Regions from separate parts of the Homo sapiens genome. Here region 2 is linked to region 1. Evidence: promoter capture Hi-C in 16 types of primary human blood cells and fetal thymus (Javierre and others, 2016). All regions are on one chromosome and are shown on one strand. Each heading gives the region's core, a stretch centred on a gene start or on the middle of the fragment in contact. The rest is flanking DNA. Distances are from core to core; before and after follow the strand shown. Region 1 holds the start of HTATIP2 (HIV-1 Tat interactive protein 2). Region 2 overlaps ARL14EP-DT (ARL14EP divergent transcript).

Region 1 (3,432 bases), core at 166-2,665:
AGGTGTATATACAATCTCCTAAAATCATGGAACAGAACCTTTAGGTTCTGTACATTTTATTGTATATTAATTATGCCACAATTTTAAACAAAGGGGAAGAATAGACAGGGTACAATGAATAATTTCTGTGACAGATTTGATAAATGAATTACTAGGACAGTGTTTGCTGACAAGGTTTAACATTGCATTCTTGTAGAAAACCTTTAGGAACTCAAAGGGAAGAGTCCAGGCACTGTGACAGGCCAGTGGGGAATGAACCACACTGCTCTATATTAATCAAGCTTTTTTATTGCAAACAACAGAATATATCTGGTAAGCTTATACAGCACAGGAATTTATCAGAAGAATAACAGGAAGTACTGTATTCACAACAGTCTCTGAAAACAGGCAGGAATTTAAGACAAGATCAGACCATCAGATGGCTGGTGGATCATATGATGCCATAATCCTATACCCTTGCCCCAACCAACCCACATATATCTCAGGCCTTCACTGCATCTTTTCATTACTCCTCCAAAACTGAAAACCTATGCGTGAGCCTCTGGCTTGCTGAGCCTAGGCAAAGCCTACATATAATAACTCCCATGGAGATGGAAGAGGCAATGTGTTTCATTGGCTTCTAGATGGGAGGTGGGGCCCCCAAATGACCAATGTTCCCAACAAAACCTGAACAATCTGAAATTATTCAGATTTCTGCTTGTCATTCTAACCTCTGTTCAGGACTTCCAAGATCCAGGACAGGCCCAGTGTAGATACCTGTGTCCCAAACCACTGATCTGGGCTAGGAAGACTGAATCACAGGTGTGGAAGGTCACCCGGGTTCAACCATCTAGGTGATGAATTAGGCCAGGACCTGGGCAGGTAGACCATTTATTCTGGGGAGATATGATGCGAGCTTGAATTACATGGGAGAAATATTTGTAAGGCAGATGGGATAACAGGACTTGATAAGTCTGTAGTGTGGAAAGGCTAGAAAAGAAAGGAATCAAAGGAATCCTGATTTCTGACTTGACAGGGTAGAAGGAGGTGTGTGTGTGTGTGCGTGTGTGTGTGTATGTTTATGTAGGGACAGTGACACCCAAGAGAGGCTAGGAATAGGTTTGTTTTATTCCTGTTTGGGGTGGTTGGGTAGGCAGGGTTAAGTTTTTGACTTGGTGAATTTGAGATGATGGCCAATATACAATTGACATTCCAGCTGGGGGGACCATTGAAGATCAAGTCTGGCAAGTCTACTAGCTGGCGCCTGGGTGAGCTGAGCCCAGCAGGTGAGGGAAAACGCGGGAAGAGGGTCTTGCAGATTCCAAACTTAGGAAGGGTCGCGGCTCCGCGCACGTGCTCTCGGGGTCACCTTCCCCGCGCCTGTGAGGGTGCCAGGAGTTCGTCTCCAGGTCCCGCCCCTGTGGGCGGGGCGAGGCAGCGTCGCCGCGAGGCCACCCGGAAGACCAAGCCGGGTAGGCGCTGTCTCCGTCGCCTCCAACCCCCCCGGTCCGACCAGGGAAGGTGGGATGCTCTGATGGCCGGGCCTGCGGCGCTGAGCGCGGCGGCGGCGGCTGCTCTGGCGGCCGCCCTGCTCCTGCTGCGTCGTGAGGACCCGGGGCCGGGGGCTGGCCCCAGGTAACCCCTCCGCGTATGGGACCGAGCTGGGCCAGGTCTCCTGGCCGGGCCGGGGATACCGTGGGGTATGCCCAGTGATGCCAGCAGCTTGTGGCACCTGGGCGCACCCTCCAGCTCGGGCCCCTTCCGATGGGTCTGCTGGCTCAGGTGCGGGCGATGGCCGGGGAGCCGCGCCCCGCACGTGACTCAGCACTTTCCCCAGAGCCCGGACTGCGGAGAACAATATCCTCCTCCCTAACAGATAAACAGCCCTTGTTCCTCGGGATAAGGACTGGCAGTCCCCTGACACCCTAAGACCGGCATCTGTCGATGTTATTTCCCCAGCATGGCCGAAACAGAAGCCCTGTCGAAGCTTCGGGAAGACTTCAGGATGCAGAATAAATCCGTCTTTATTTTGGGCGCCAGCGGAGAAACCGGCAGAGTGCTCTTAAAGGAAATCCTGGAGCAGGGCCTGTTTTCCAAAGTCACGCTCATTGGCCGGAGGAAGCTCACCTTCGACGAGGAAGCTTATAAAAATGTGGTGGGTATTTCAGCTGGGACTCAAATGGACCCCCAGGATTCTGCGAGGTGAACATATTTCATGCCTAAAGGCTGAATACTGCCCTGCCAGTGGTGGGGGTAGTGAGAGGCCATCAAAACTTGGCCAAGATTGGTCTGTGAGAGTCCCTCCCAGAAGTCTGACTCCTGGATTGTAGCCCAGGTGTGCCTCCCTCCCGCTCATTGTGTGGTCTTGGGCAAAGCCCTTCTCTCCATCTGCAACCCTATAAAGCTGGGTCTGGGTTGTAATGGGGGTGGGGGCTGGTGAGACAGAAGAGCACTGTTTTCAGGGTCATACAAGCTGTATTCTAGAGGCAGCCCTGGTGACCTTGAGAATTTTCTCAGCCACTTTGCTGATTTTGTCAACCTGCGCACTTCACACTAATATTGTCAGGGATTCTGAAACTGCTTTGCAGAGTGAGATAGGTCTATGGCAGTGAAAGGTGGGATTATTCACTTACAAGAATTTGCCCTGCCTGACTTCCCAGGCTTGTGTCTGTAAATCGGATATTCCCTTCACTCTAAGTTAAAGGTTTTTTTTTTTTTTTTTCTGAGACGGAGTCTCACTCTGTCCCCCAGGCTGGAGTGCAGTGGCACGATCTCGGCTCAGTGCAACCTCTGCCTTTCAGGTTCAAGCGATTCTTCTGCCTCAGCCTCCCGAGTAACTGGAACTACAGGCGTGCGTCACCACTCCTGGCTAACTTTTGTATTTTTAGTAGAGACGAGACAAGGTTTCACCATGTTGGCCAGGCTGGTCTCGAACTCTTGACCTCAGATGATGCTCCCGCTTCAGCCTCCCAAAGTGCTGCGATTACAGGCGTGAGCCACCGCGCCCAGCCTAAGTTACACTTTTATGATTATAGGAATGATATACCAGACTTCTGTCTTGTCATGACCCCCTAAATATCAGAAGCCTGAGTTTCTTGGAGATTCTGTTCTTTATTTAAAGGGAATTATCTGTGAACTGCAACAAATTAACATAGTGTGATCTCAAGACACCACAGCTACAGAATTTGGCCCCACAGGTTTCATAGAAAGAACATTTCAAATAACAAGCCATCTTGCAAATAAATGTTCTTGATTCTCGCAGGTCTGTGTTCAGGTCATGGTGTGAATGCCTTTGGTCCATCAAGTCTTGTTTATTTAAAACAGACATCTTTCCTCAGGCTGAGGCAGATGTGTTCTCACCGGTTTCATGGGCTGTGTCAGATATTCATGGTAATTAGAAGCTGAAACTGAAGGCTGGGCGTGGTGGCTCATGCCTGTAATCCCAGAGCTTTG
Region 2 (3,581 bases), core at 1,057-3,556, about 10 Mb after region 1:
ATGTACATTTGCCCTCTTACATAGCAACATCAAGTCATTAATGAGATAATCCCAAACCTTGTTATTACATCGTAACTTTCTCTTAGCAGTAATTATTGGAGGTGAGAGAATCTATATTAATTGACTTGATTATATATAATATTTAAAATCACCTAATTGACACAATTATTATAGAGAAAAACATGTGAAAGCCACATAAATAAACTCCGACTATGCTTAAGAACTGTCTAACCCAGCTCATTTGATAGCCTATTGACCAGTGAGTTAAACAAAACTCTAATTCAATGATAGCAGCATCCTCTGCCCTTTCCAAAAGTGCAGGACAGGATAATATTATCTCATGGTCAAGAAATGTATTAAATATGTGGAAAAATAAAATGTAAAAGAGCATGAGGAGAAACTTAGTGAAAATTAGCAAAACAATGTTCTGTTCTCCCTCTGCTGGCTTTTAGGCAGTATTGCTCTTCAAAGATCTGTCCAAAGGCCCATATGAAATTTTTTCAAGGAATCTCAAAAATATCTATAATGTTTTGTAATTTTTTCCAAAAATATTTAGAATGCTCATAATGTTCATCTAAATAAGCTCCACCAAAGCTAGAGCATCCCCACCAAAGCCATCATTACCTTCTCTTCTTATCACAGATAATGACTAATACAAAATAGATAGAACAAGTAGAATCTAGTGGCTTGACCAATTTTCCAAAAGAGCAATTCAAAAGAAGTAATTGATATTAATATTATAAATAGATATTATGTTTTCTAGTTTTCTAAGAATATGATTCTTACAGATTGAGATGCAGCCTGATTGAGTAGGAAAAACACTGCATTTTTAGAAAGACAACCTGGGTGTGAGTCTTGACTATCCCTATTACTTACTGGTTGTACAAGCTTTACAGATTGTCATTTATATGTTAGTTGTATAACATTACCATTTACGGAACTAAGTCTCATCAACCTCTAAATGAGGAAGCTATGCAACAGAATTGTTAAATCCTTTTCCAGTTCTAGTTTTTTTGTTCCCAGTGCTGTTGAATTATTAATTTTTAATAATTAATTTCTGCATTTAATTCACACCATTTTGGTCATTCGAAGATGTAACCAAAATGGTTCCTGTAACCATCAGCTTCCTTCCTTGACGTTGTGCCAAACACACTGTGGACACCCAGATGAATCCTAATTGACACAATAATGATTGTGATGGCAATAAAGAGCCCTGGGGTTTTTATTTGAGCCAAATTCTTTCCTAGTTATATGGCTAGTATTTTGAATAGCAGCTGTGAACAAATCTGTATTTCCTTCCCCTACGCCACCCCCACAACAGTCTGAAATCTTTACTTTAAATGAGACAAATCAGAAGAACTGCTGAAAAACACAGTTTCAATCTGTCCTTCTGCCCAGTCATTAGTTAAATCCCCTATATCACATTTCTTTAAATCAACTGACTCTTAAATATTGTTATAAGGAAAGCAAGGCCAAGGTGGGTGTGAGGTTAGGGGATACTAGTTCAAATAATGACTCCACTTCTTTTAAATTTAATACCCATCTTTCCAGATTGAAATATACCATGTCATGAATGAGATAATACATGTGAGCTTATCATTCCAGTGTTTTCAGACATAACTGGAGGTCCATAAATAGTAGCAAGAATAATTATAGCTACCACTTATTGAGAACTCACTATGTGCCAGGCACTATGCTAAACTATATATATAAAAAGTTATACACAAACACACACACATACACAAACACATATTCATTTATTCCCCACAAAAACCCTATAAGGCAGATGCTACTTTCTCTATTTTACAGATAAGAATTTGAAGCTTAGAGAATTAATGTAATTTCTACACATTATCCTACTAGTGGCTAAGCCAGGATTTGAACCAGGCAGTCTGATTCCAGAGCCCACTTAGAGTTTTGTTTCATGCCCCAAGGAGGATACTGAAGCTTTAGAAAGCAATTAGTTACGCACCCTCCAGAATAACTAAAATGAAAGCCAACAATAACAACTGAGAACTCCAAGTGGTGGTGAGTATGTTTATGAGTGTAAATTGGTGCTAGAAGGAATGTAAATTGATGCAACCACTTTGAAAAACTCTTCAGCAGTATGTACTCAAACTGAACATACACATTGCCTATAATCCAGCAATTCCACTCCCTACTACATATCCAAATGAAAGTGTAAATGTATGTGGACCAAAAGACAGAATGTTCAAATGTTTGTTGCAGCATTATTTGTAGAAGCCCCAAATTGAATGAACCCAATGTCCATCAACAGTGAAAGAGATAAAAGAAAATGTTGTCGGTTTCACGTAATAGAAATACCACTCAGCAATGACAAATATTTAATTGCTTACGATGTCATACAGCATCAATGAATTTCAAGGACATAATACTGACCACAAGAAGCCAGACACAAAAGAATATATGTGGTACAATTCCAAAGCTCAAAGTCCAGAAATAACCAAAACCAATCTATGGTCAAAGAAGTTAGAATGGTGGTTACCTTTGGTAAAAGGTGCTCACAACTAGGAGACAGCATACAAGAGACTTCTGGGGAGCTCATAATTTCTTGACCTGGGTAGTGGTTATACAAATATAAAAATGTATCAAGCTATAGACTTAGAACTTGTGTACTTCTTTGTGGTATGTCAAAATTCAGTATGAAAGCTTACACAAAGGAAATGAAAACAATTACTAAGAATTCATTCCCCTCATTCCCTTTCAGAGTACATGCCATCTCATCCCAAACTTGGGATTCTTGCATGCAAATGTTTCTCTTTTTTCCTAATTCTTGGCTCCTTTGCACTTTCCCAAGTGCGTTTAATGAGAAGCTGTGAATTTCTCACAGGAAACTACCTCACTAGCTGATATCCTAAACTTCAGTTCCACTCTCTGACCACAACTGTTCATTGTTTCAGTTTGATCACAGATTTCACCTCCTTGCCTTCAATTTTGATTTTGAAAGCTCCATTTCTTTTCATTCTCAACCAGCTTTCCCTCTTTCGTTCATTTGTTTATTTGAAGAGATTTATCACTTCAACAATTCCACTTACTCAACTAATAGTGCTAGGCTCCTGGAATACTATAGTAAATTAAACTGACCTTATGTCTTATCTCATGATTCTCACCATCTAATGACTTCCATGAAAAAACCCTAAACTCTCTTGTCTCTTGTCCTTCTTACACATCTAACCGTCAACTGCTCTTGCTTAAATTAATTCTGTTGTCTGCCTTCACTGGTCCCACACAAGGGCAACTATACACTAGGAGAAAAATTGAAATTTTCACATCATTAATTTATGTCTCTGCATATTCATGGTCTCTAACTTCATCTAGGTCCTAAATGCTGTTCTATGTCCCTAGCAAGCTTTCTCTTTATTTTTCCTAACCTCTAATTGAAATTTAGCATTTCATTTATTTACAAAAGGCAGGCAACAAATAATAGTATTAGCAGTGCCTATTAGTACTGCTGCAGTACTAATAACTTTGTTTACAGTGTCTATAACTTTGTCACCAACAGAAATCACATAATTTTTTGTGTCACATTATAGTTGTTACAGATATCTCAGGATATATTC

The links. The method cuts DNA at HindIII sites, captures the fragments that hold promoters and counts their contacts. A CHiCAGO score of 5 or more calls a contact.
Region 2: a contact is called between a fragment that was not itself captured here and the fragment with the promoter of HTATIP2 in region 1, in 1 of 17 cell types (activated CD4 T cells). The highest score is 5.4, in activated CD4 T cells.

What each region holds. Positions count from the first base shown.
Region 1 is chr11:20,362,299-20,365,730 of GRCh38, forward strand. It overlaps HTATIP2 (HIV-1 Tat interactive protein 2), which reads left to right and starts at 1,416. Exons shown (of 5, transcript NM_001098522.2): 1 at 1,416-2,134. The coding sequence starts at 1,940. RefSeq lists silencers at 1,417-1,836, 1,623-1,765. The HindIII fragment of the contact is 1,649 bases long and covers 316-1,964 here.
Region 2 is chr11:30,314,384-30,317,964 of GRCh38, forward strand. All of the region lies in intron 1 of ARL14EP-DT (ARL14EP divergent transcript), which reads right to left. Among named protein-coding and RNA genes, the nearest start is that of ARL14EP-DT, 6.8 kb to the right of the region's middle. The HindIII fragment of the contact is 723 bases long and covers 1,946-2,668 here.